7 separate regions of the Homo sapiens genome follow, and all the other regions are linked to region 1. Evidence: promoter capture Hi-C in 16 types of primary human blood cells and fetal thymus (Javierre and others, 2016). All regions are on one chromosome and are shown on one strand. The core of a region is centred on a gene start or on the middle of the fragment in contact, and the rest is flanking DNA. Distances in the headings are between cores, read along the strand shown. Region 1 holds the start of LINC01530 (long intergenic non-protein coding RNA 1530). Region 2 overlaps ZNF583 (zinc finger protein 583). Region 3 overlaps ZNF582 (zinc finger protein 582). Region 4 overlaps ZSCAN5A-AS1 (ZSCAN5A antisense RNA 1). Region 5 overlaps ZSCAN5A (zinc finger and SCAN domain containing 5A). Region 6 holds the start of ZSCAN5C (zinc finger and SCAN domain containing 5C). Region 7 holds the start of ZNF444 (zinc finger protein 444).

Region 1 (3,833 bases), core at 804-3,303:
ACAATGGGAATAATAATAGATCTCGCCTTGTGGCTCCTTTGCAGATTACATGCGTTAATTATGTAAAGTCAAGCATTAGAATGGTGGCTGTCCACCATGAGTACAACACAAATGCTCGTTCTTAATGATTCAACAAACATGGAATTTCATTAAATCTGAAATAAAGGTATTTTGAGAAATTGAATTCCGTTATCAAGTGTGAAGTCCTGATCCAGACTCACCTCGTGCACACTATTTACCACAAAGGTGGACTCCCTATTTTAAATGCATTCACTTAAAGAGACCTTTCCCTGTACTAATTAGTGTTTGTTAAGAAGGACCTTCTGGACATAGTTGAAAGAAAGAGAAAAGAAGCAGGTGTGGGGAGGAGGAGAAGGAGAAGGGAGGAAGGGAGGGAGGGGAAAGAAGATGGATGGACAGATGGAAGGAAGGAATTAGGGATGGCAGAAAGGAGATAAAATAAACTCTACTTTTAAAAGAAACCAGGTGGGGTGAGTGGGAGGGCTTCCCTGTGACCTTGGCCTCAGGGGCTCTTTCTGGCTTCCAGATAAGATACCCCTCAGCTTTGCACTGGGTCTCCTGAGGCTTGGAAGTTATGTCCACAGTGAGGTTGGTGTAGAGGGGCAGCCACTCTTTGGAGAGCAACCTGTAGCCCAGACAGTTGATGCCATCATCAGAGGATCCAGGGATCGGAGGATTGGCGGATCCGGGACAGAAGGCGAGGCCTGGAGGATGGGGAGGGGCAGCCATGTGAGCCTCAGGGAGGACCCAGAACCAACCACCCCACTTCCAACACTGATTCACCTCCAGGGCCTCTGCTTGTGGCCAGGATCTTCCCCCTCCAGCATATGGTAGCCTCTGAAAAGCAGGTGGGGCTGGGAGAGGAGCATCCCGCTTAGTTTCACCCTTCCAGAGACACAGGAAGGCATGGAGGCCAAACACCTGTCTCTGACAGGGTCCCCATGCCACAGCCCAGCCCTCCAGTCCAGGGTAGCCCATGTCCCCCTCAGCCCAGGGCGGCCCATACCTGCCTCATCATGTCAGGACCTGCAGCTCCTGCCTCCCACCTGGCAGTGATGTCATCCTCATCATCCCAACCCCACTACACGTTGGAGAAGCCATTTATCTTCAGGTAGTGAGTGGGGTGCAGGGCAAACACCCCTCCAAGGCACAAGCTAACGGCTTAATTGCTGTTGTTTCCCCATGTTCTGGCTTGCAGCACTTGTAACCTCTGGGCTCCTGCAGCCCTTAACATCTGATACCTTTACATTAAGATTTATCATCCTTATCTCTGGACCAGGCTGAATACACCTGTGTCCCGGTGCATCTGGCCAGCGGGTCAAAGGGCCTAGCACACAGATTAACAAATGAATGAGTTCCAGTTACCAAAGTTCAATCCTTGAGGTGGACAGAAGACGCCCAAGGCGTGTCTCCCATCACCCTTCACTCTCAATCCTCCTTATCAAGGGCCTCACGGGAATAGTGATAAGATCTCAGAATATACAGGAGGGAGCAGTTTCGGGAAGGGGGGCATTGGAAGGAAGTGGAGGGCTTGGATCTGGGGAGCAAGCGGGGAGAGTGCTCCGTTCCTTGGTTTTGGGATCTTGCCTTACGGGTCTCACCTGCCCTCCATCCTGGCTTCCACCTGGCAGGGTGTGTTTGTGTCAGAAAGACGATTGTGCGTAACTGTTCACCGCGTCCACGTCCCGAGAGTTGCGCACGCGTGGAGATCTGCAAAACGCTCCCTTTCAGCTCCGCGCATGCACAGAGACCCCACCCCGCAAGTCCTTGCCCTTCGGCCTGGGCAGGCGTCCACTCCCATGGCTGCAGGGCGCGCCGAAGAGCCCACTCTGCATCCCCGAGACGCGGCCCAATCCTAGGAATGTGCTTAGCGCAGGTGCTATCTTCCCTTTTCACATTCCCAATCTCTTTCTCCGCCCCCTCAAACTCTTGCCATACTCCCACAACAGCAGAAAATCTGAAAAAAAAGTCCATCCCATCTTTGCACTGACAGCAGTGCACAGCAGCTGGCAGAGAATTCTGGCACGGCTATTGTGCTTGCGCAGGCGCAGACGGGAAGCGGGCCGGACCGGCCTAGTACACTCTGGGAGGCGTGCGCAGAATGCGCAGCGCTGCCGCGAGGATCTCTGGGAACTGTAGGCCCAGTTTGTCCGAGAGCCGCAAGTGTTTCGGGACGACGCAACGCAGGGGCACCTGGGAGTCGTAGGCGGATGGGCCCAAAGCCTTCCGGGAGTCGTAGTCCTTCCGCCCGCTCCTCGTTTCTTTGGAGGTTGGCCCTTCCAGCTCCAGTTCTGCCCAGGTGAGCGCCCATCCCGCGGCCGGCCGGTCCTGGCCCTTTGTCGCGATGACGTGGCGGAGTTGAGGGTCTCTGTATTTCTCTCCCCCGCGTTCTGGTAGGCGTCCCTGGAAAGATGGCACCCTTTTCCGTGATCTCTCAATCCCTCTCTCCGGGTGGGAGTGCTCTAAGCAGCTGTTGTACCTGCTGACCCGCTTTGGATTCTGCGGCCCAGCCTGACACCTTCTCACTCTCGCCCTTCAACCTGGGTGCAGTGCGAGTGCACCCTCCTCTGTCCTGGTTACAACACAGAGTGGTCAGGGCTGGCCCAGGGGGTGCTCAGGAGGCTGTGGGAACACAGAGGAGGTGCTAGACCCAGCCCAGGGTTCAGGAAAGACCTTACAGAGCAAAGGACCTCAAATCTACCACATCCAAACGAAATCCCAGATTCCCTGTCCTAAACCTGCTCCTCTCACAATCTTTCTGCCTCCTCCCCACTAACTGTCCATCCAAGTGCTCAAGCCAAAATCTTGGAATGGTCGCCAGTGTTCTGTTTCTCTCATCCGCTTCCCTCCCGCAACCAAATCTTGTGTGAGTCTCATCGTCTCTATCTCCAGAAGAGGCCCAGAATCTAACCACTTCTCTCCACTTCCACTGTCTCCATTCTGCTCCGAGCTACCGTTACTCCTCACCTGCATCACTGCAGGGGCCTCCTCACTGTTCTGTTTCTTCCCTTGCCACACTCCACCCTCTATTCAGGCACAGTGCCAGGAAGCCTGTGGAAATATAAATCAGATCCTGTCACCAGTCACTACCCTGCCCCCCAGCTTAAAATCATCCAGTGGTTCCCATCTCAGAATAAAATCCAAGCTCCTTATCCTGCCAACCTCTAAGCTTCTGGTCCTTTCTGGTCGTCCTCAGTCACAACACACTTTCCAATGGGCTGAACACAGCCAGGCCCTGCCCTTCATGTCCTTTGCATTTGCTATTAACTCAATTTGGAGCATTCTTCCCACCCTGACCCAATATCTGTCTACTCATTTTGTTGGCCTCAGCTCAAAGGCCTCCAGCCACCCTAAAGAACCCCCTCCCTGTTCCCCCCCCCCCAGTCATACCACCAAAGATAATTCCCTCGTATTTGGAAAGCATCTTAGTCATTTACTTCCTTATCCATGGCCTGGTTCCTCCATTAGAACATCAGTGCCCTGACAGCTGCAACCTTTCCTATCTTGCTCACTGCTGTGTCCCAGTACCTAGAGCATGCTGGGTACATAGGCGGCACTCAGTGGGTATTTGTTAAATGAATGAATGAAAGTTTGAGCTGAGACTTGAAGGTAAGAGTTAGGTCTACCACAGTGTTTAGGGAAGTGTCTTGCGCAATGAGATCAGCCTGGCCAAAGATGCAAGGGGTTGAAAAACCAATGGGAAGTTCATCTGGCTGAGGTGAGTAGGTAACTAAAACAGGGATGCAACTGGATCTGATAAGGACCTCAGGAAGTGAACCCCAGTACTAGGTGACTGCAGATTCAGAGGTTGA
Region 2 (3,833 bases), core at 413-2,912, 4.8 Mb after region 1:
ACATATAGTTATTAAAGGCCTTGTGCTAATTGCTGTGATAAATAAAAATAAATAAAAATAAACACCTTGTGCCAAGTGCTGTGATAAATAGGCCCTGTCTTTGTCTTCATAGAATTTAATGTATACTAGTTTATTATATGATGTACTGATATTATTTTAAATCAGTGGGAAAGGGATGGATTATTCATCTAGTAAAAAAAATTCTCTGCACTTAGAGAAAAATACATAGAGGTTAAATGCATTGTATAGGTTAAATATATATATATACACACACACACCTCTAGGTTAAAATATGGAAAATGGAGAAAGAGTAAGGTGAGGCAGATGCAGAAATCAACTAGTACAGCACTGTCCAATAGAACTTTCTGTGATGATTGACAATAGAAATGTTCTATATCTGCAGTGTTTAACATAGTAGCCACTAGCCAGATGTGGCTACAAAGACTTGTATATACTAGCATGACTGAGAAACTGAATTTTTCATGTTAATTGATTTAAATTTAGCCGTATGTAGCTAGTAGCTAGTGTATTAGACAGCACAGTCTTAGGCTTATAAAACAGTAAAGCCAGGAAGATAATTATGGGTGATCTTGTCCAAGTTTCTCATTCTACAGATGAAGAAAAAGAGGCCAGGGGAAGAAAGTGACATGTCCACGTAACCAGTTAGTGACTGAGTCAGATGTAAGAAGTTGTAATAAAAATTGAGGGTCAGTAATGTCGATGATGATGAGTGATGATATGAAAAGGGTGGTAGAAAATGATGAGGGACACTGTAGCGAGTCTGTGATGGGGCTCATTATTTCACTCCCATGCCCAGAACCTTCATTGCCTTCCTATCTTACTTGGAATGAAATCCAGTGTCCTAACCATGGCCTATAAGGCCCTTTGTGCTTCAGGTCCTGGCTTTCCTAGACCTCATTTTCTACAAGTATTTACCTCTCTTCATTTTAATCACAGTTGTGAATTTGCTGTCCCTCAGACTTACTGTGCTTTTTCTTGTCTCTGGACTTTTGCATTTGCCCCCCCATCCCCCTACATGTTGACATAGCTTGCTCCCCCATTTCATTTAGATTGTTGTTCAAACCTTACCTCTTCATTTAGACTTACCTTGACTATATTATCTACAATAAACAGCCTATCACTCTTAATCACCCTTTACCTTCTTTTGTTTTTTGTGGCATATGTCACTACCTGACATGTATGACCTTATGTTTAATGTTTTTCTCCTTTGTTAGAATATTAAGAGGAGGAACTTTGTTTTGTTCACCTTTGTATTCCTGACTCTTAGAATAGTGCCTGGTTGGTAATAGGCATTCAGATGAATTCCTTATCTGTGAGTGAGACCAGGATAGCTAGAGTTAGCCACCTCTTCTTTCCTGCTACTGATTTGGTAACAGAAGAAAGAAAAAGCTGAAAGTATGATGTGTAGAATAGGTGGAACCCATTAGCCCAAATGCTGTTTCCAGGACCCCACCCCAGACCTCCTGAATCATGGTCTCTTGGTGGCACCTAAGAAAACACATTTTTATTGGGTTTCCCAGGATGATGATTATCTTTTTTTGAGATGGGGTCTCACTATTTTGCCCAGGCTGGTTTTGAACTTCTGGCCTCCAGCTGTCTTCCTGCCTCAGCCTCCCAAGTAGCCAAGTAGCTGGGTTACAGGTATCCAGGATGATTTTAATGCATGGTTTTTGAGAACCTCTGCCTTTAAAGATTATATTTAAAGTATGCCTCTTGTAAGCAGCATATAACTGGCTAGTTTTAAAAAAGCTAGCCTGATAATCTTAATCTTTTAGTGTTTATTACATATTTAATGTAATACTTATACGTACGTGCTTAAAGCTACTGTGTTTCTGTTTGTTTTCCATTTATCCCATCTGTTCTTTTTTCCTTTGTTTCTCCTTTTTTGCTTTTTTTTGGTTAAGTCAGGTATTTTTCCTTATTATTTTAGTAATTATACATAATTTTTATTGTTCTTTTAGTGGCTTTTCTAAGATAATATTCATCCATTACTCATATGTAGTAATCCTTCTTTCTTCTGTAATCTTCCTCCTATGATTAGTACCCTTATCACTTCCTGAACAGGATAAGATGCCTATGGTGATTTAACTCCACAATATTCTTATTGCTCTATTTGTAATTACTGCTTTAGAACTCTTAATTTCTTCCTGTGTTTTCATGCTTCCATTTTCCTTCTGTATTACTAATACCTGAAGAACTCTTCGAGTATGTCTTCGAGTGCAAGCCAACACTTTACTCCCACCCTGAATTGTTTTTTCAATTCAAAAACAATTTGACCGTATCGTTGCTGGGTCAAAATAGTGTAATTAAAAATTTTTTTGAGGTTAAGTAATTTTGTGAAATCCTGGTCTCAATGGAGAGAATGACGTCTGTGAATCGATTTTAAGAAAATAATTCAAGACCTATGCAACATCATAGTAAAACATTAAGATTTATCCAGCTGGGTGTGGTGGCTCACGCCTGTAATCCCAGCACTTTGGGGGGCCGAGGTGGGTGGATCATCTGAGGTCGGGAGTTCAAGACCAGCCTGGCCAACATGGTGAAACCCCATCTCTACTAAAAATACAAAAAAATTAGCTGAGCGTGGTGGTGGGCCCCTGTAATCCCAGCTACTTGGGAAGCTGAGGCAGGAGAATTGCTTGAACATGGGAGGTGGAGGTTGCTGTGAGCCAAGATCGCACCACTGCTCTCCAGCCTGGGCGACAGAGCAAGACTCCATGTCAAAAACACAAACAGCAACAACAACAAAAATTAAGATTTACCCAACTGAAAATAAGCATGGGGGTTAGTAAATAAGATAGGGCATAATTATACTGTATAATAGTACTCAGCCAATAAAAGTGACATTATCAGTAAGTGAAATATATACATAATCATAGACATTAGTATAAGGAACCGTTTGAGCAGATTATACTAACTATAAATTATAATTGCTTTTAGGAGGTAGGGTGACATGGGAGTAGGCATGGGGGTGAAAGACTTCCAATTCTTTAACTTAAAAAGGGAAAAAATTGGCTGGGTGAGGTGGCTCACCCCTGTAATCAATCCCAGCATCCTAGCACTTTGGGAGGCCCAGGCAGGAGGATCCCTTCAGCCCAGGAGTTTGAGACCAGCCTGGGCAACATAGTGAGACATCATCTGTACCAAAAAAAAAAAAAAAATTACCTGTGCCTGGTGATGAGTGCCTGTGGTCCCAGCTGCTTGAGAGGCTGAGGTTGGGAGGATCATTCAAGCCTGACAGGTTGAGACTGCAATCAGCCATGATTGTGACACTGTACTCCAGCCTTGGCGACAGAGCAAGATCCGGTCTCCCAAAAAATAAAATTAAAACAAAGGAGTGGGGGGAAATCACTGAGGGTAGAAATACTGGAAAGTATATTTTAAGTTTCTTTAATGATGGCAATATTTTAAATTAAATCAAAGTAAATATAAAAAAATGTACAAGGTATTCATGGTCTCATTGGCTGACAGGAAAATGTCAGATAGTTAAAACACAGACTCTATTAGTTCATGTGTGCAGCTAAAAAATGTCTCAAGGACTTCATGTAGCAAAAGCTGCTTCGCTAATGTCTACAGAATAAATGATGTGTGTGGAACACTTTCCCGCACAAAATTTTAAAGAGTTTGTATTGAAGTATTTGAGTTACAGTAGAATTGATGATTAGCAGCGCCCAGGCCTATCCAGCACGAGTTTTAATTTTTAGACCTGATTCACATTCTTTTCCTTCTTTGAAGCTACAAGTCACTTCCTCAGATTTCCTTGTATTAAGAAATGTTTCAGAGATAGAAGCTTTTTAAGCAGCTGATGCGTG
Region 3 (3,833 bases), core at 581-3,080, 4.8 Mb after region 1:
AGAGGATTAGGCCAGTTGATTGAGGGTGGGTCCTTCTAGAGCAACATACTTTGCTGATTATTCAAACTGCATGAAAAAGCTGAATGCTATAATGGACTGTGATTCTACCTGGTACATTATTTCAGCTACAGTGGCAGGTTTTACTGTACTTATAGCAACCAACCCCAGTTGACTTAAAGAGACTCAGATATAGCTTGACTACAGGTGGGCACCACCATGCTCAGCTAATTTTTGTGCTTTTTTGTAAAGATGGGGTTTCGCCATATTGCCCAGGCTGGTCTCAAACTCCTGGGCTCAAGCAATCCGCCTGCCTTGGCCTCCCAAAGTGCTGGGATTACAGGCGTGAGCCACCATCCCCAGCCTCAAAGTACTTTTTGCTGAGAATTTGATTCTGTCCTAATTTGCTGAATCATACATCATAGATTCAAGGTGATGTGCTAACAAGGATATCATTTTTAAATGTTGCCATGAAGTTCAAATGCACCTTTTCATACTTTAAATTGATATATGTATATAACCCTTAAACGTTTATGTTCATGATAATTCTGTTGAGACTTCTGGCTAAGGATGTTGCTATACTGGTATATAAAATGTGCACAATTAAACTCCAGTGTGATACTACTCATTTCAGTATATATGAGTGCTGTATTTTGTGCAGTAGCTTTATCTTAATATGGCTCTTTGTGAATGCACTTTATAGCATTTATTGAGGGTGAAAGAGCAGGAGGGAATTCTATGTTACGTATTTCTATAAAAACATTGGTCATTTATTCAACAGAACCAGTATTCCTAACATTTGTCTGGGTTTTAGATATGTTGTTCTGCAGATCTATTCACTGTAGTGATCCCAACATTATTGAAAATTACCAAGCTTTTACTGCTCTCACCAGTGAAAAACTGTACCTTCTTAAATTCTGTCAGCATGTCACATTTATTGTAATCAACAGTAACTGGATGTTTCTGAGGTGTTTTGATTGGACTCAAAAGTATTACAATCAGTTTGGAGACAAAAACACAATCTGCATTTTAGTTTAAGTATGACACTGATGACTTAAAAAAAAACTATATACAAACGTTCTATATAAAGTTTGCCTCCAAAGTATTTCTCTTTCTCTTTCTTTTTTGCAGGGGAGATGGGGTCTCATTCTGTTGCCCAGGCTGGAGTGCAGAGGCACAATCATATTATACTACAACCTCAAACTCCTAGGCTCAGGTGATTCTCCTCTGTCAGCCTTCTGAGTAGCTGGGACTACAGGCATGAGTTATTACGCCTGGCTGCAGAGGGATTTTAATATGTAAAAGTATTAACACAGTGTATTAACTTTGTGCCCACGCAAATCTCTTTTCTATCACATCCTTATGTTCTTCGACAGATTGACTTTTATGCTTCTCCTTTTAGAAACATAAAATTGTTTTATTCTTAGTTTTAAAAAACATTTGAATGTGTACCCTTGCTTATGCGAAGATTTATGACCTACTAGTCATAGCTAAATAGTCAACATTGTAAGAGCTGATACTTTTTGGTTCATGTGAGGTTTGGCATTCTTGCATTTATGTACACGGATGTCAATTGTGTGGACTTCTTCTGTATTTATGTTAACTAGCTTTTACTGAATTGTTGAAACTAAAAAAGTTAAAAACGTGCTTATAAAAAAAGGGGGGGGGGATTATGTCCAAAGAACCCAGGAGCCAGTTTGAAAGGGTGTCACTGGGCAAGTCTGGAAAACTATGAACGTTGTGATAAATAATGATAATGGGTAATAATCTGTTACAGGATAAAACAAGATTTATTTTATTCTGACCTGGAAATGAGAAAAAATATGCCACCTACTATTAATCCATATGATATAAATGAAGAAACAAATGGTGAAAGGGAGAAAGCTCTTCTTTACAGGAGTATGTGATCTAATAAATAAGAATAAAGTTTTTTTAAAAATCACTATTTTGTAACTATTAATCATATCTGATCCAAGAGAAAACTATCAATGACTTCTGAAACTAGCAGGTGAATAATTTGTGAGAAGCACAATATTTATATCCTCTCCAGGTGGACCATAAAATCATGGCTTGCCTCTATTTCTACAGTGCTTTCCCTCTGCCCACAGTGCAGAACCCAAACTTCATAACGTGGTTGCCTTTCCTAGCGTATCTTTTTTTTTCTTTTTGAGACAGAGTCTCTCTCTGTTGCCCCAGCTGGAGCGCAGTGGTTCGATCTCGGATCACTGCAATCTCCGCCTCCCGTGTTCAAGCGATTCTCCTGCTTCAGCCTCCCAAGTAGCTGGGATTATAGGCACGTGCCACCACACCCGGCTAATTTTTGTGATTTTAGTCGGGACGAGGTTTCACCATGTTGGCCAGACTGGTCAAGTGATTTGGCCGCCTCAGCCTCCCAAAGTGCTGGGATTATAAGCATGAGCCACCATGCCCGGCCCCTAGTGTATCTCTGTGTTCCTCCCTTTGCTCACTGACCTCAGCCACAAGGGCCATCCATTATCTCAGAGGTACCAAGGGCTCCCTGCTCAGGTCCTTCACACTCATTGGCTACAACTGGTATTCCCCAGCTACATCACACCTTCCATGTCTCAGCTGAAATGCCTTATCCTTGAAGAGGCCATTGGCCCTACCATGCACCCTGACTGAACCTGTTCTTTTTCTTTCACATATTAGCTCATGTCCAGTGTGTATGATTTCATGTCTATTTTCCCACTGCAGTGTAAGTTCCATGAAAGCAAGGATAATGTCCACCTGCCTCATCAATGTATACTGTGGCATATTCCATGGTGCATAATAAAAGCTTAATAAGTACTTGTTAACTGACTCCAGAATTCAAACAAACCGATACAAATTCCTTTAGAAAAATGGTCAAAGGACAAGATCATGTCCTTTGCAGGGACATGGATGGAGCTGGAAGCCATTATCCTAAGCAAACTAACACAGGAACGGAAAACCAAATACTGCATGTTCTCACTTATAAGTGGGAGCTAAATGAGGACACATGGACACACAGAGCGGGACAACACACATGGGCCTTTCAGAGAATGGAAGGTTGGGCGGAGGGAGAGAATCAGGAACAGTAACTAATGAGTACTAGGCTTAATACCTGGGTGATGAAATAATCTGTAAACAAACCCCCATGACACAAGTTTACCTATTTAACAAACCTGCACTTATACTCCTGAAGTTAAAAAAAATTTTAAATATTAAAATTAAAATTAATAAAAAAAGAAAAATGGTCAAAAGATACAGACATCTTTCCAAAGACAAAATACTTTCCTTAGGAACCACCATATTTGTACTCAGTCTAGCCCTATAATCCAGGTTGAATTTTTAAAGTGTTTCAGGAGGAAGGAGCAGCCACCTTTGTCAAATGCTGCTGACGAGCTGAGGAAAACAACACGTAAGACATAAGCTTTGAAGGTAGCAACCTGCAGGGAAGATCTTCTAAGACAAAGGGCCACTTCCAGCGGACCTGATACCTGCAGTGGCTGCTCCCTTCCCAATGATACCTCACTCACCTGGACACAGGCCTCCAGACACCACTCTCTCCACCATCCAGGGCTCTTTGCCTTGCTCTAGGAAGGAGATCACATCAGGTTTGGAAACGGCAAGACCTGGAGATGAGAAGAAACATGCCACCTGGTTATGGTGTGGGGGCCCCAGAATTCAGATCCAGGACCTGGTCATCAAGCAGGAGAGGCAGTTGCAGGAAGTGCCAGAGGAAGATGGGACAGTTGCCTGGGGGTAGGGGGATGCAGCTTCAGCCGACAGCGCCGCCCTTTAACCCCTCAAAAATGACCAACCAATCATAAGACTGAAAAGCACCCAAAAACTGA
Region 4 (3,833 bases), core at 906-3,405, 4.7 Mb after region 1:
TTAGAGATAGAGTCTAATTTCAGGTGTCCATTAGGATTTACTACATTCGTCATGCTATATATACATTAGGTCTCTAATGTCACCCAGGCTGGAGTGTAGTGACACGATCATGGCTCACTCCAGCCTCAAACTCCTGGGCTCAAGCAATACTCCTGCCTCAGCCTCCCAAGTAGCTAGGACTAAAGGTGCATCCCACCGCACCTGGCTATGTTTTTTATTCTTTATAGAAATGGGGTCTTGCTATATTTCTCAGGCTGGTCTCGAACTCCTGGCCTCAAGCAATTCTCCCATCTCACCTCCCAAAGTGGGGGATTACAAGTGTGAGCCATAGCACCTGGCCAACTGCAATGATTTTAATTATAAATATATATATTTATTAATAATACATTTACTATGTTTATATATTATGTTTTATAATGTACATGTTAAATATGTATACCATATAAGTCATACACATATTGAATATAAATATGCACATTATATTAAATGACATTAAATATATACAAATATCTTATATGTATGATATATAATTTTACATCCCAAAATGCATATTTTACAATATAAGTGCATGCATATCTTATACTATCTAGGTATAAATGTATTTTATGTATTCTATACAAATACTATACAATACATAAATTTATGTATATATTCAATTTTACACATCTACTAATATATGTAATCTATTTTGTTTTTACATGTGTATTTACATACACATGCGATACATATGCACTGTAGTTCATGTATTACATATGCATAGTTGTGTGTTATATGTAGTATTACATAAGTATCCATACGTGTATATATTTCCCATGTAAATGAATATGTGTAGTATAGATAATTCATATATATCAAAATATGATAGTATACATGATATATTCACATTAGTACATATTTTGATACATATACATTATAAACCTTACATACATTTATATTATGAAGTATATCCACATAGTTAGAAGTAGCTTAATAATAAACTCAACATTTATGGTAGTGGTCATGTATGGGAGTAGCACAGTGAAGGGAGAAAGAGAGAAGCATGGATGGACAGGAGAAGTGATCAGTGTTTACTCCTTAGGTGGATGGGGATGTTTTTGGTAGTTCATCATTTTACTATGTTTTATAACTGACATGTATGTTGCAAGTTGTTTTTTCAACATATTGAATACTTCCAAAGATACAATTATAAAGAAAAATGCTGTCACAGAATGCAAACTTCCTGTTTTAAAAATTTTACTATTTTATTATAAAATAATTTTAGTTTTATGACATTAAAAAAACATATTTGTGGCCAGGCGCAGTGGCTCATGCCTGTGATCCCAGCACTTTGGGAGGCCTAGGCAGGTGGATCACGAAGTCAGGAGTTTGAGACCAGCCTGACCAACATGGTGAAACCCCATCTCTACTAAATACAAAAATTAGCTGGGCATGGTGGTGCGCACCTGTAATCCCAGCTACTTAGGAGGCTTAGGCAGGAGAATCACTTGAACCGAGGATTGCAGTGAGCTGAAATCACACCATTGCACTCCAGCCTGGGCTACAGAGCATGACTCTGACTCAAAAAAAAAAAATTGTTCCAAAAAATGGGTAAAATATGGTAAAGAAGATAATCACATAAACCAAATGTGGGTCAAAGAAGAAATATGGCCAGGCGCGGTGGCTCATGCCTGTAATCCCAGCACTTTGGGAGGCCGAGGCAGGTGGATCATGAGGTCAGGAGATCGAGACCACGGTGAAACCCCATCTCTACTAAAAATACAAAAAAAAAAAATTAGCTGGGCATGGTGGCGGGCATCTGTAGTCCCAGCTGCTGGGGAGGCTGAGGCAGGAGAATGGCGTGAACCCAGGAGGCGGAGCTTGCAGTGAGCCGAGATGGCGCCACTGCACTCCAGCCTGGGCGACAGAGCGAGACTCCGTCTCAAAAAAAAAAAAAAATAAATAAATAAATAAATAAAAGAAATGTAACAGAAATTTTAAAAATAATTTGACCTTGGCTGGGCATGGTGGCTCATACCTGTAATCCCAGCATTTAGGGAGGCCAAGGTGGATGGATCAGTTGAGGCCAGAAGTATGAGACCAACCTGGCTAACATGGCGAAACCCCGCCTCTACTAAAAATACAAAAATTAGCTGGGCGTGGTGCCATATGCCTGTAAACACAGCTACTTAAGAGGCTGAGGCACGAGAATCAGTTGAATCTGGGAGGCAGAAGTTGCAGTGAGCCGAGATCGTGTCACTGTACTCCAGCCTGGGTGACAGAGCCAGGCTCTGTCTCAGAAAACAAAAACAAAAACAAACAAACAAACAAAAGTTGAACTAAATAAAAATGAAGTTACAACTTACCAGATTTGTAGGATGAAGCAAAAGAAATGCTAAGAGGGAAATAGGAGAGTTATAGTATTAAGTATATCAGTAAAGAAGATAATTCTATATTCAATAGTCTATGTTTATACCTTAGGAAACTAGAAAAAGTACTGTATTCTGTACTCTAATCCCAAAGCAAGCAGAAGAAATAATAATAATAATTGGAGTAGAAATTATTGAAATTGAAAATAGAAAAATAGAGAAAGTCAACATCTAAATATTCCTTGAAATAGTCAATACAATTTAAAAAACATAAAAAAAAAGTTTTTCATGATAATTTACTTTCTCACATCTTGGTAGGTCAAATATCTTATTTTGTTCTTTGTGTATCACCATTGTAATCTGGGTAGTTTATTTATCCCAACAATGAATGTTTTTATTTTTAAAAAATTTTTATTTCAAAACTAATTTCCACTTTAGGTTCATGGAATACATGAGTAGGTGTGTTACTTAGGTATGTTGCATGATGCTGAGGTTTGATGATTGATCCTGTCACTCAGATAGAAAGCACAGTACCCAATAGTTTTTCAGCCCTTGCCTCTTGTCTTGCTTCTCCCCTCTGGTACTCCCCAGTGTCTACTGTTCCCATCTTTATGTCCATGTGTGCTCAGTGTTTAACTTCCACTTATAAGTGAGAACATGCAGTGTTTGGTTTTCTGTTCCTGTGTTAATTCACTTAGGATAATGGTTTCTACCTGCATCGATGTCACTGCAAAGCACAAGATTTTGTTCCGTTTTATGACTGCATAGTATTCCATGGTGTATATGTACCACATTTTCTTTATCCAATCCACTAATAATGGGCAGCTATGTTGATTTCACATCTTTGCTTTTGTGAATAGCGCTGCAATGAACATATGGGTGCATGTGTCTTTTTGGTACAAAAATTTATTTTCTTTTGGATATAAAACCAGTAATGAATTGCTGGGTCAAAGGATAGTTCTGTTTTAAGTTCTTTGAAAAATCTCCAAACTGCTTTTCATAGTGGCTGAACTAATTTACATTCCCACCACAGTGTATAAGCATTCCCTTTTCTCAGTAGCCTTGCCAGCATCTCTTGTTTTTTTTACTTTTTAATAATAGTCATTTTGACTGGTGTAAGATGGCATCTCATTATTGTGGTTTTGACTTTCATTTCTCTGACGACTAGTAAAGTTAAGCATTTATTCATGTTTGTTGGCTGCTTGTTTTCTTTTGACAAGTGTCTGTTTACATCTTTTGCCTACTTTTAAGGGGGTTACTTTATTTTTGCTTGTTTAGTTGTTTACTTTTTATGTTGATTCTGAATATTAGACCTTTTTTGATGCAGTTTTTGAATATTTTCTCCCATTCTATAGGTGGTCTGTTACTCTGTTATTAGTTTCGTTTGCTGTGTAATTAGATCCAATTTGTCATTTTTTTGTTGCAATAGCTTTTGAGAACTTAGTAATAAATTTTTTTCCAAAGCCAATCTTCAGAATGGTGTTTCCT
Region 5 (3,833 bases), core at 543-3,042, 4.7 Mb after region 1:
TGTTTATAACGACCCACTGATGCATCCTGGATGCAGTAGTGAACGGGGCAGACAAGATTCCTGAGCTCACAAGAAAACAATTAGATGATTACAGGTGATACTTAGAGCTAGAGGAAAAGCTGAGGATATGATGAAAAAGAGAACTAAAGAACCTTGCCCTGGATAGTTGGGTGATGAAGGAAAGCCTCTTTAGGAAAGTGACAATGAATCAAAGGCCTGTAGAATGAGGGGTTGTCAGATACACAGAAAACAAGTGAAAGAGCCTCCAGGTGAAGGAACTGGCTTGTACGAAGGCCCTGGGGTGGAAAGTGGCCTAGATGTGCCTGGAGTCAGAAAGAAAAATGGGGGCAGGAGAAGGGGGAGGGAGTGGGAGGGCACTATGGGAGGAGTGTGGGTGACATGCTCAGCAGACCACCTCAGACCTGGAAGATTAGAGCAAGCATTTTAGACCCAACCTTCAGAGCCATGGGAAGCCACGGAAAGGCTGTCAGTGAGAAAGAGACACGTCCCAGTGACATGAAGTGTAGAGGCCAGTTAAGAGGCTACTCAGTTTCCACGAGATGACGGTAGCCTGGTCAAGGCTAGGGTCCAGGGTACGGAGAGAAAGTACGAAAGACAGATGGGAGGTTTCTCTTCCCTCGATAGCTGCAAAGAGGGTCCCCCTGGCCTCTCCCGCATCGCCAGAGAAAGTACTAAGGACAGATGGGAGATTTCTCTTCCCTTGATAGCTACAAAGAGGCTCCTCCCTGGCCTCTCCCACGTCGCCAGAGAAAGTACTAAGGACAGATGGGAGACTTCTCTTCCCTCGGTATCTGCAAAGAGGGTCCCCCCCGGCCTCTCCCCTGTTGCCAGAGAAAGTACTAAGGACAGATGGGAGATTTCTCTTCCCTTGATAGCTACAAAGAGGCTCCTCCCTGGCTTCTCCCACGTCGCCAGAGAAAGTACTAAGGACAGATGGGAGATTTCTCTTCCCTTGATAGCTACAAAGAGGCTCCTCCCTGGCCTCTCCCACGTCGCCAGAGAAAGTACTAAGGACAGATGGGAGACTTCTCTTCCCTCGGTATCTGCAAAGAGGGTCCCCCCCGGCCTCTCCCCTGTTGCCAGAGAAAGTACTAAGGACAGATGGGAGATTTCTCTTCCCTTGATAGCTACAAAGAGGCTCCTCCCTGGCTTCTCCCACGTCGCCAGAGAAAGTACTAAGGACAGATGGGAGATTTCTCTTCCCTTGATAGCTACAAAGAGGCTCCTCCCTGGCCTCTCCCACGTCGCCAGAGAAAGTACTAAGGACAGATGGGAGACTTCTCTTCCCTTGATAGCTACAAAGAGGCTCCTCCCTGGCCTCTCCCACGTCGCCAGAGAAAGTACTAAGGACAGATGGGAGACTTCTCTTCCCTCGGTATCTGCAAAGAGGGTCCCCCCCGGCCTCTCCCCTGTTGCCAGAGAAAGTACTAAGGACAGATGGGAGATTTCTCTTCCCTTGATAGCTACAAAGAGGCTCCTCCCTGGCCTCTCCCACGTCGCCAGAGAAAGTACTAAGGACAGATGGGAGATTTCTCTTCCCTTGATAGCTACAAAGAGGCTCCTCCCTGGCCTCTCCCACGTCGCCTGCCTTTCATCCTCTCCCTGGCATCCCCAGTGCCCTTTTTACATTAAAAAATGTCAACTCGATCATACGATATACCCCCACCCCCTGCTGCAGTCCTGCTTAAATCCACCAGTGGAAACTCACCAACTATGATGAGTGTCTTTCAAACTTTAAAAGAAAGAAAATCCAAAACACTTTTCTACTGAAATCTTACATGGAATCCCAATATATAAAAAATTCTAAGTTGCTTTTCATTACCAGAGGTACTTTTCCTAAGGTTAACTGTGTGACATTTACTTATTATGAAGTGAGGTGATGAGATTTGCAAGCACAGGGTACAGAAGGCCTCTGCTGTCTTACGTTACTCTCTTTTACCCCGTATCTTGCAGTGTTTCCTTTTAATTGTTCATACGGAGAAAAATCTGAGCCCACAGAGATAAGTCACTGCAAATGCCTAATAGTTTGCCTTGTGAAGTGTACATGCCCTTCAGGTAATACAATTTTTTCCCCAAGGTCTGTATGTAAAACATGCAACAGGTTGGTGTGGCTCTCCAGTGAATAAAAATTTCAGTCCATGTGCTATATTTTGGGTACACACCTATTTTAAAAAATAGTTTAATTTTTGAAATGAAAATCAAAGCAAACCTTTGTGGAATTCCTAAAAGATCCCAAGTTTTCAGGGAACCTGGCAGGAAGCCTCTGCCCCATTGATCAAGTTCAGGTCTCTGGCATGGTACCCAAGGGTTCTCAGGCTCCAAGCTCCTCCTGCTTCTCTAAACTTTTCTCCACTTCTCTTGATCCCCCCACCCACATTCCATCCCCTGTCCATATTAAACCTTTTTTTTTGAGACAGGGTCTCGCTCTGTCGCCAGGCTGGAGCGCAGTGGCGCAATCTTGGCTCACTGCAACCTCCGCCTCCCGGGTTCAAGCAATTCTCCTGCCTCAGCCTCCCAAGTAGCTGGGACTACAGGCGAGTGCCACCACGCCCAGCTAAGTTTTGTACTTTTAGTAGAGACGGGGTTTCACCATGTTGGCCAGGATGGTCTCGATCTCTTGACCTTGTGATCCGCCCGCCTCGGCCTCCCAAAGTGCTGGGATTACAGGCGTGAGCGGTGGCTCCCAGTCTTTTTTTTTTGAGATGGAGGCTCACTCTGTCACCCAGGCTGGAGAACAGTGGCCCAATCTCAGCTCACTGCAACCTCTGCCTCCCAGGTTCAAACGATTCTCCTGCCTCAGACTCCCAAGTAGCTGGGATTACAGGCATGCACCACCACACCTGGCTAATTTTTGTATTTTTAGTAGAGATGAAGTTTCACCATGTTGTCCAGGCTGGTCTCGAACTCCTGACCTCAGGTGACCCACCCACCTCGGCCTCCCAAAGTGCTGGGATTACAGGCATGAGCCACCACGCCCCCCCATATTAAATCATTTCTGATTCCCCCCAAAACATCACATTTTTTTTCCCGCTCCATTATGCCATTGCACACATTGATTCCTTGATCTCTGTCTACCTAGAAAAGTCCTCCTCAGTCCTCAAGATTCACCTAAGCAATGCTTTGGTTCAGGAACCAACAGCAATCCTTCAGATTCCACTGGGGAGGATGCTGAAGGAAATGAATGGTGTTGAACGGTTTCTCAGGCTCTCTTCAACCATACATTAAAGCACCGGTCAAACCAGATAGTTATTTTCATATAAAGGTGTGCTTTCAACCCATTAGGCAAGAGGTTGGCAAACTTTCTCTGTGAAGGGCCAAATATTACGTGTTGGCTTTTCAGGTCATATGGTCTGTTGCAACTACTCTAGTCAAAGCAATCGTAGAGAATACACTGATGGCTGTGACTGTACCCAACAACTGATGAAAGGATAAACAAAACGTAGTGCATTCATACAATGGATTATTATTCAGCCCCCAAAAGAGGAATGGGGTCCTGGCACGTGCAACAACACGGCTGAACCTTGAAAACACTGTGCTGAGTGAAAGAAGCAGACACAAAAGATCACACAGTAGATGATGCCATGTATATGAAACAGACAGATCTGGCAAATTCAAAGAGACAGAAGGCCAATTACTAGTTGTCAGGGGCTGAGGGGAGGAAGGAACAAGGGGAGTGACTGCTTTTAATGGATTTCTTTTTTGGGTTGATGAAAATGTTCCACTCTTAGAAGTGACAATTGCACAACATGGCGAATGTAATGAAGGCCACTAAATTGTGCCCTTTCAAAATGGTTAAAATGGTGAATTTTATG
Region 6 (3,833 bases), core at 851-3,350, 4.6 Mb after region 1:
CACCCAGGCTGCAGTTGCAGTGGTGCGATCTTGGCTCACTGCAACCTCTGGCAGGAGGATTGCTTGACCCAGGAATTATGGACATAAATAGATAATGAAAAGAAAATAGTCACTATGTGAGTTGACGAATACATTAATTAGCTTGATTGTAGTGATAATTACACCATGAATAGGGATATGTAAACACCAGCATGGTGACCTTAGTCACCAAGGACGGATAGAGGCCAGGAATTGGAGAGCAGCCTGGGCAACATAGCGATACCCCCATCTTTACAAAAAAGTTTGTTAATTAGCCCAGTGTGGTGGTGCTTGCCTGTAACTCCAGATACTCAGGAGGCTGGAGCAGGAGGCTCTCTTGAGCCCAGGGGTTCAAGGCTGCAGTGAGCTATGAGTTTTCCATTGCACCCAGCCAAGGTGACACAGTGAGACCTTGGCTCTAAAAATAAATCAATCAATAAACAAATTTATCCACACAGGTAGGAGATCTCTACAAGAAAAACTATAAAATACTGATGAGAGGAAATGAAGAGGGCACACAAATGGAAAGATAGTCCATCTTCATAAATCGGAAGAATTCACATTGTGAAAATGACCACACTATTAAATAGAGATCTACAGATCCAACTCAATCCCTACCAAAATGTCAAGGACATTCCTCATGAGAACATGACATGTTTCAAGAGGAGAGGATTGGAGGGAATTGGGTAGGTAGATGGTGGTTTTAGGCAGATTCTAGTTCATTCCACTTAATAACTCCATCTGAACTCTGACTCACTATCAATACCTCAATTCTTAACAAGGAAAAACATCACAGAGTATGAGAAAATGCATCAGAAAATAAGTGTCAGAACTTTTTGGCAAAATGACCTTGTATCGGGCACTTTACTGACATAATCTGGTTTTTTGTTTGTTTGCTTTTTGAGATGGAGTTTTGCTCTTGTTGTCCAGGCTGGAGTGCAATGGCATGATCTCAGCTCACTGTAACCTCCGCCTCCCGGGTTCAAGTGATTCTCCTGCCTGAGCCTCCCGAGTAACTGGGATTACAGGCATGCGCCACCACGCCTGGCTAATTTTGTATTTTTAGTAGAGATGGGGTTTCTCCATGTTGGTCAGGCTGGTCTCAAACTCCTGACCTTGTGATCCACCCGCCTCAGCCTCCCAAAGTGCTGGGATTATAGGCGGGAGCCACCACTTCCGGCCAACATAATCTTATTTAATCTTCAAAACAACATGTCAGGAAGGTAATAATTCCCTGGTTCTAGTCACAGGGAGTTTGAAGTTTCCAGAATTCAGTGGGTTAAGATTTCCTAAGGATTGAAACCAGAATCAGTATAAAGTGCACTTAATTGTCATTCCACATGGTCTCCATGATCCACACAGTAAAATTCATACCACCATTAAGGCTTTTCTTGCTTGAGAGGCCTAACTGAGGGGGTTGAGAACTAGGGAGCACTCAGTATGTCTATAAACCACCTCCCATCATCCTAAAGTGAATGCAGAGTGGGGACCATGTGCCTTCCTCTGGTTCCCACTGTTTTTACCTAAGAGTAGGTTGGCTGATATCAAAGCAGTGATTTAGCCTAGTTCAAGCACAGCTTTCCCATGTCAATTCCCAGATTTTGAAAAGTGAAAAATTATCACTACTACTCATTATGTATCAACAATGACTGTCCCTTTTTTTTTCAATATCTTGACATTCACATGTGAAAGCTTTCCTTAAACTAGAGCAAATCACTGGTTTGATATTATTCAACCAACTCTTAACATGTCCTTTACTCATTAGGATATTACTGTCTGTGCCATGAGGGGACGCAAAGTGGTTAAAACTTGCAGATCTATAGTCCCTGAAGCCTCCAAATACTTCAGAAATATGAAATGTAATTCAGTAGAGCGGGAAAACCTATGTTATTTGCATGGTAGGCATGTTTAATACATTAATTTCCTGTGGGTGGGGTTTCATTGAGAAATGTAATCAATGCTAATCACCTTCAATGGATTCTATGGCCCTAAACCAATCATGTGGGGGCCCAGGGGACTGGAAGAGAGGCCTGGAGTCCCGGGGGTTCTCTATAAATAGACAGTTCAGCTCCAGAGCAGTTGGAGAGCACATCCTAGAAGAGAGGAGGCTGGAGGCAGAAGTCAGGAAGGAGGTAAGTGTCCACTGGGGATGTCTGTGGGGTTTTGGAGTTGGCCTGCAGGGGTTGGTTTCAGAAAGATTTGGATTGAGGGGTTGGTTTCAGAAAGATTTGGGTTGGGGTGTTGGTTTCAGAAAGATTTGGGTTTATTTTTTCATGCATTTGCCCGGACACCTTGTGAAGGCAGTGGGTCTGCTTTGCACCCTATTATTTATTCTGACTTGTTATATAACTCTCCCTTAAAATAGGAATAATATTAACTTTCTCATCGTGGTTAGGCTACATTTTATTTTTTAGAGATGAGATCTCTCTCATTGCCCAGACTAGACTGGAATTCCCGGACTCAAACGATCCGCCTGCCTCTGCTTCCCAAGTAGCAGGAACTACAGGCACTTGCCACCATGCCTGAATAAATGTTTAATTTTTTTTGTACAGATGGGGTCTCAGTACATTGCCCAGGCTGGTCCTGAACTCCTGGGATCAAGCATGCTCCCATCTTGGTCTTCCAAACTGTTGGAATTACAGGTGTGAGCCACCTTGCTGGCCACACACCACTTGTTAAAAAGCATCGCTGGATTCTCCCTTTCCACAGGGTAAAATCAGCCATTGATGAATGGGCATCAACCTACTAGGCCAATGAGAATCTGCACTAAGTGTCCCTACCTGGGGGTCCTGTGTGCTGTATACTCCCAGAATTGAATACTAACCCGCGTACCTGCCTTTATTTTTTCCCATGTCCCATTGCTTGTTTTAATGGGAAATGAACTGACAGCGAATACAAAGTGGTTTCTAGGAACATGAACCCCTTTTTTTAGAGACAGGCTCTCACTATGTTGCCCAGGTGGTTGTCAAACTCCTGGGCTCGAGGGATCCTCCCTCCTCAGCCTCCTGAGCAGCAGCAGGTGCCCTGTGGCAAAATCATTTTTAATTCCAGAATTTCAGGCTGCCTTTTCTCTCTCATATCCATATGCTTTTTCAAAAAAAAAAATTTACTTTTAAATTGAAAAACAAGAAAGATACGTATTTATGGTGTACAGCATAATGTGCTTTGCAGGATAGAAACAATGTAAAATGGGTAAATTGAGCTGATATTCACATGCCTTACTTTATGGACTAATCATTTTTGGTCATGAGGATGCTTAAAGTCTACTCTTTAAGCAATTTCCAATTATACAATACATTGTTATGAACTGAAGTCACCATGTTGGACAATTGCTCTCTTGAACTGATCTCTTCAACTGAAATTCATACCCTTAAACCTATATCTCCCCAACCCTCACCATAGCCCTGTTAACCACCATTCTACTCACTGCTACTATGAGTCTACTGGGAATTTTTTTTTTTTTTTTTTTTTTTTTGGTGACAGAGTTTTGCTCTTGTTGCCCAGGCTGGAGTGCAATGGCGCGATCTCTGTTCACCACAACCTCTGGCTCCCGGGTTGAAGTGATTCTCCTGCCTCAGCTTCCCAAGTAGCTGGGATTACAGGCATGTGCCACCAAGCCTGGCTAATTTTGTATTTTTAGTACAGACGGGGTTTCTCCATGTTGGTCAGGCTGGTCTTGAACTCCCGACCTCAGGTGATCCGCCCATCTCAGCCGTCCAACGTGCTGGGATTACAGGCGTGAGCCACCACACTCAGCCTGAGTCCACTAGGTTTTTAATTATTGTTTACATTACCTACTTCTTTTATTTTAAAAA
Region 7 (3,833 bases), core at 530-3,029, 4.5 Mb after region 1:
AAACCCCATCTCTATTAAAAATACAAAAATTAGCTGGGCATGGTGGTGCACGCCTGTAGTCCTGGCTACTCAGGAGGATGCAGCATGAGAATCACTTGAGACTGGGAGTCGGAGGTTGCAGTGAGCTGTGATCGCACCACTGCACTCCAGCCTGGGCAACACAGCCAGACCCTGTATCAAAAAACAAAACAAAACAAAACAAAAAACCAAAAAAAAAAAAAGAAAAAAGAATCAAGGGCTGCTTTTCTATTTTTGGCCTCAACATTTGGGTGAAGATGGACTTGCTTTCTAAGATGGTGGAGTAATGGGAAGGAACAAATTTCTTCGCAAGGTGGGGGAGAGAGTGAAAAATTATCTACTGCCCACCTTAGGTTTGAGATGCCTATTAAGAAATCCAAGAGGAGATGTCAAGTAGGCCATCGGATATGAGTGGGAAGAAGATCAGCGTGCTCTAGGAGCAGAAAGGAGGCATGACTGGAACTCATTAAACACGAGGAGAAGACAGTGGTAGACAGGTGGGCCAGGGCAGATTAGGCCACCGTGGGCAAACTGGTCACAAAGTTCTGAGTCAGCCACTCATCGCTTGTGAAACCTGGGGAAAGTTGTTCATTTATGAATATAAGACGAACAACTTCCATGTAATGAATGCTTGTTATGGGTAAGCCACTGTCTTCGTTTTTATGGCGCGGAGTCTTCAGATCAGCCGGGGAGGTGGAGGATGGGAGGGGGATTCTCTTATCCTTGTTGTACGGAGGAGGAAATACGCTGCGGGCTGGGGTAGGGCTTGTATGAGCCATAATCAGGTCTGGAACTGTCTAGATAAAAACTTCAGCTGATCTCTTAGGATGTCTGTCTGCTCTAAAATCCAAATATGCTTCTTCACAGTTCTGAGATGCAGAAACTGAGGCCTCAGGACGGGGCAGTAGTCTGTCCAATAGGGGCACAGCGAGGACGCGTGGCAGGTAGCGCTGTCCCCCAATTCACCCCAGGGGAAACTGAGGCTAAAGAGAGGGCGGTGTCCTGTCCAGGTTCACACACAGGAAGAGCCAAACCGAGGCCCCCGCGCTGGCCCCCTCCTGAGCCACTGCCCACCCCGGAACAGGAGGGCAGCCTGCTCACGTCCTGATTCCTGGCACCGACATCGGCCCTTAAGTTCTGCCCGGGTGGAGAGGGAGGACAAAAAAAAATGCGATCCGTAGTCAAGGAGACGTAGCCTGCACTCCTGATTGGCGCAGAACTCTAGCCTGGTCTCCTCCTCCTCCTCCTCTTCGCTTGCCAGCTTCTAGAGCTCCGGAGGCCCCACCTCCCAAATGCCCGGCGGTGCCCGGCCTCCCCTGATCTCCACAACAACGCCGCCATGGCTCCTCCTCCTCCTCCCTCTTTTTTTCCCGGCACTTCTGCGCATGTCCAGGGCCCGCGCGCAGACCACTGGGAAGCCTCCTCGTGCATTCTGGGAAATGTAGTCCAAAGCCTGTCGCGCTCAGACAGCCCGCGACATTTGCGCCGTCAAGGCCAAATAGGCTGCAGACGACGCTTTCGCGTATCTTGGGAAATGTAGTTCCAGTGTTGGCGAAGACGCCACGCGGTGACAAACAGGAGTAAGGCGGTCCCCAGGCGAGGGCCAATTGGCAGCCGCCTTTGCCGCGATGCTTCCTGGGAGTTGTAGTTCGGGGTGAGGCCGGGGCTTCATGGGGAGTTGTTGGGCTGAACGAGCGGCTCGGAGTATGGGATTGGGGGAGGGGGACGGGGGAGTTTGGCGCAAAGCCTGCTGGGGCATGGAGTCCCGGCGAGCTTTGTGCGCATGTGCGGGGAGGTGAGGGGGCTTGGGGGGCCTCGCCTGAGAGAGTGAGGTGAGCGAGGGGGGAAGGAGGGAGGGATTGGGTGGGGGCGGTTGGACGAGGGAGGGACCAGAGGTTGGATGGGAAGAGGGGCGCCGGGGGCCTCAGGAGGGAAAGATGGGAGACTTGCGGGGAGGGGAGGAGAAGGGGGCTGAGTGATGGGGAAGGGGCTGGGAGAGGGAACTAGAGGGGGAGGGACTTGGAGAGGGGGAGGGGTGGATAGTGGGAGGGGGTCGTGGATCCTCGAGGTCCTGAACGCGGGAGAGAAATGCTGAGGGAGAGGACGGGGGAGGGGCGCCTGGGGGAGGGGGAGGGGCGGGACGGGGGAGGGACAGGTGGGGGAGGGGAAGGGGACCCTAGCAGAGGGTGGGCTGTGAGATGAAAGCTGAGTGGGAAGCTGGACCCTACAAAGGAGTCTGGGGGCGCCGGGACCGGACCCCTTCGGAAAGGTTTGCGGGAAGGGGCTTCCGGGGACGATGGTTATTGTTGTAACGTAGATACGGCGCAGGTGGCTCGTTTTGCGCGCTGCTTCTACAAGTGCAACTTTTACAGAGTTGTGAGATTCCTGAAGATAAGAATCGTTGCTCTGTTTTGCTGCTTTCTCAGTGCGGAGCATCTGCCTTTTTAGCTTGTTGCAAGGCATTATTACCTTCGGTAATATGTGTAAAGTGCTTAGAAACTCTGTTTATTGTCAAATGAAGTTGACCCCCGCCACCTCTACCCCAGTCAGGATGGAGTCACCCTCCTCTATATCCGATTTTAACGCCTATTCCAATGTATACTTAGTATTTTAATCTGCGTGCGTGTTCATAGCAGTGTCCCCTGGGCACCTCGCAGGGAAACTTCGACAAAGTAACCCTAAGTCTGACTGGACACTTACTAGCCAGGTGTGGTTCTCAGCATTTTTGTTCTCCTTCTATCACTTTACAGTCAACGAAATGGAGATACAGGGTATTACAAAAGGTGCCTTGTACCTCGTCCAAGGACACAGAGCTGGTAGGAGGCAGAGCTGGAATTTGCCCCAGAGCCTTTGTGCCGTAGGTAAATATTTGTCCAGTGGGCCAGCGGCTCTCAACCAGGAGTGGTTTTGTCCCCCAGGGGACATGTGGCAATGTCTGGAGACTTTTTTTTTGGTTTTTCCAACTTGGGAAGTGCTACTGGCATCTCATGAAAAGAGGCAGAGATGCTGGTAGACATCGTATGTTGCACAGGATAGCCCGCCACGACACAAGTGCCATTAATGTCGAGGTTGGGAACCTAGAGTAGACAAACCGGTCTTTGTCGAGCACTTAGCCTTTGGAGGCTGCTTCTAACTCCTGCTCCCAGCAGCCTCTTGAGAGGAAGGAGCTCTTGTTAGTCCTGTGTCTCAGGTGGAGAAATGAAGCACAGAGGGGGTAAGTCACACGTCCACAGTCACACTGCTGATGAGTGGCAGAGCTGGAAGTTGAAGCCAGGCAGCCAGACTCCACAGCCTCTTAGCCATGATATTAACCCAGCATATGTGGGTGCTGGTGCCGGGGTACTAGGTGGAACTGGTGTGGACTCTGGAGTCACATCTGGGTCCCATTTGTGGCTCCTTCACTCTCTGAGCATCTCCCTATGGTAAGAGGGGACCCATCTCCCCAGCTCACAGGTCTGTTGGGAAGGTTGGGTGGGGCAGTATAAGACACTAGCCACTCAGTGGCTGTCTTCAAGGCATCCAGGGTGCCTGGCTCTGGACTGGACTGTGCTTTGCGGACACAGACAGCTAGACAGCAGGGTTACAGCTGTTGAATGCACATAGCACAGGGCGCTCATTGGATGGTAGGGTGGATTGACATGGTGGAAGGCCCTTACTTAACAGCATGTGCTTTCTTGGGAGCAGGCCTTGTGCTGGATGGCCCCACCGACCCAGTGAAGAGCTGGACTTGGTCACTGCCCCAGAGAGCTCACTTTCTGGACAGCCCAGGGTGTAGTGACCTGTGATCACCTCTGAGATTGCAAACAGGGTCAGCT

The links. Contacts are between HindIII fragments. The CHiCAGO score rates a contact against its expected background, and 5 or more counts as called.
Region 2: a fragment that was not itself captured here is called in contact with the fragment with the promoter of LINC01530 in region 1 in 2 of 17 cell types (total CD4 T cells and non-activated CD4 T cells); the score reaches 8.1 in total CD4 T cells.
Region 3: a contact is called between a fragment that was not itself captured here and the fragment with the promoter of LINC01530 in region 1, in 3 of 17 cell types (non-activated CD4 T cells, total CD4 T cells and activated CD4 T cells). The highest score is 9.6, in non-activated CD4 T cells.
Region 4: a fragment that was not itself captured here is called in contact with the fragment with the promoter of LINC01530 in region 1 in 1 of 17 cell types (total CD4 T cells); the score reaches 5.9 in total CD4 T cells.
Region 5: a fragment that was not itself captured here is called in contact with the fragment with the promoter of LINC01530 in region 1 in 4 of 17 cell types (total CD4 T cells, non-activated CD4 T cells, naive CD8 T cells and 1 more); the score reaches 8.6 in total CD4 T cells.
Region 6: a contact is called between the fragment with the promoter of ZSCAN5C here and the fragment with the promoter of LINC01530 in region 1, in 2 of 17 cell types (activated CD4 T cells and total CD4 T cells). The highest score is 5.6, in activated CD4 T cells.
Region 7: the fragment with the promoter of ZNF444 here is called in contact with the fragment with the promoter of LINC01530 in region 1 in 5 of 17 cell types (total CD8 T cells, activated CD4 T cells, total CD4 T cells and 2 more); the score reaches 11.4 in total CD8 T cells.

The regions. Positions count from the first base shown.
Region 1 is chr19:51,592,327-51,596,159 of GRCh38, forward strand. LINC01530 (long intergenic non-protein coding RNA 1530) reads right to left here and starts at 2,054. Exons shown (of 2, transcript NR_034159.1): 1 at 1,623-2,054; 2 at 1-725. It overlaps ZNF175 (zinc finger protein 175), which reads left to right. Exons shown (of 5, transcript NM_007147.4): 5 at 1-184. RefSeq lists enhancers at 498-1,133, 1,134-1,769, 1,770-2,405, 2,152-2,461, 2,672-2,721 and a silencer at 2,804-2,971. The HindIII fragment of the contact is 8,842 bases long and covers 1-3,188 here.
Region 2 is chr19:56,407,959-56,411,791 of GRCh38, forward strand. The region is part of intron 2 of ZNF583 (zinc finger protein 583); the gene reads left to right. Among named protein-coding and RNA genes, the nearest start is that of ZNF583, 5.5 kb to the left of the region's middle. The HindIII fragment of the contact is 4,293 bases long and covers 1-3,809 here.
Region 3 is chr19:56,386,486-56,390,318 of GRCh38, forward strand. It overlaps ZNF582 (zinc finger protein 582), which reads right to left. Exons shown (of 5, transcript NM_001320371.4): 4 at 3,516-3,611. It also overlaps the pseudogene SLC25A36P1. Among named protein-coding and RNA genes, the nearest start is that of ZNF582, 5.1 kb to the right of the region's middle. The HindIII fragment of the contact is 1,923 bases long and covers 870-2,792 here.
Region 4 is chr19:56,327,075-56,330,907 of GRCh38, forward strand. The region is part of intron 1 of ZSCAN5A-AS1 (ZSCAN5A antisense RNA 1); the gene reads left to right. It also overlaps a transcript of ZSCAN5A not described here. Among named protein-coding and RNA genes, the nearest start is that of ZSCAN5A, 14 kb to the left of the region's middle. The HindIII fragment of the contact is 8,424 bases long and covers 1-3,833 here.
Region 5 is chr19:56,305,622-56,309,454 of GRCh38, forward strand. The region is part of intron 2 of ZSCAN5A (zinc finger and SCAN domain containing 5A); the gene reads right to left. All of the region lies in intron 14 of EDDM13 (epididymal protein 13), which reads left to right. It overlaps LOC124900420, which reads left to right. Exons shown (of 5, transcript XM_047439799.1): 5 at 1-3,833. The coding sequence starts at 620. The coding sequence ends at 1,738. Among named protein-coding and RNA genes, the nearest start is that of ZSCAN5A-AS1, 7.2 kb to the right of the region's middle. The HindIII fragment of the contact is 6,781 bases long and covers 1-3,833 here.
Region 6 is chr19:56,200,173-56,204,005 of GRCh38, forward strand. ZSCAN5C (zinc finger and SCAN domain containing 5C) reads left to right here and starts at 2,101. Exons shown (of 5, transcript NM_001358413.3): 1 at 2,101-2,150. The HindIII fragment of the contact is 5,550 bases long and covers 1,709-3,833 here.
Region 7 is chr19:56,139,508-56,143,340 of GRCh38, forward strand. It overlaps ZNF444 (zinc finger protein 444), which reads left to right and starts at 1,780. Exons shown (of 5, transcript NM_018337.4): 1 at 1,780-1,850. RefSeq lists enhancers at 1,243-1,572, 1,603-1,742. The HindIII fragment of the contact is 17,292 bases long and covers 1-3,833 here.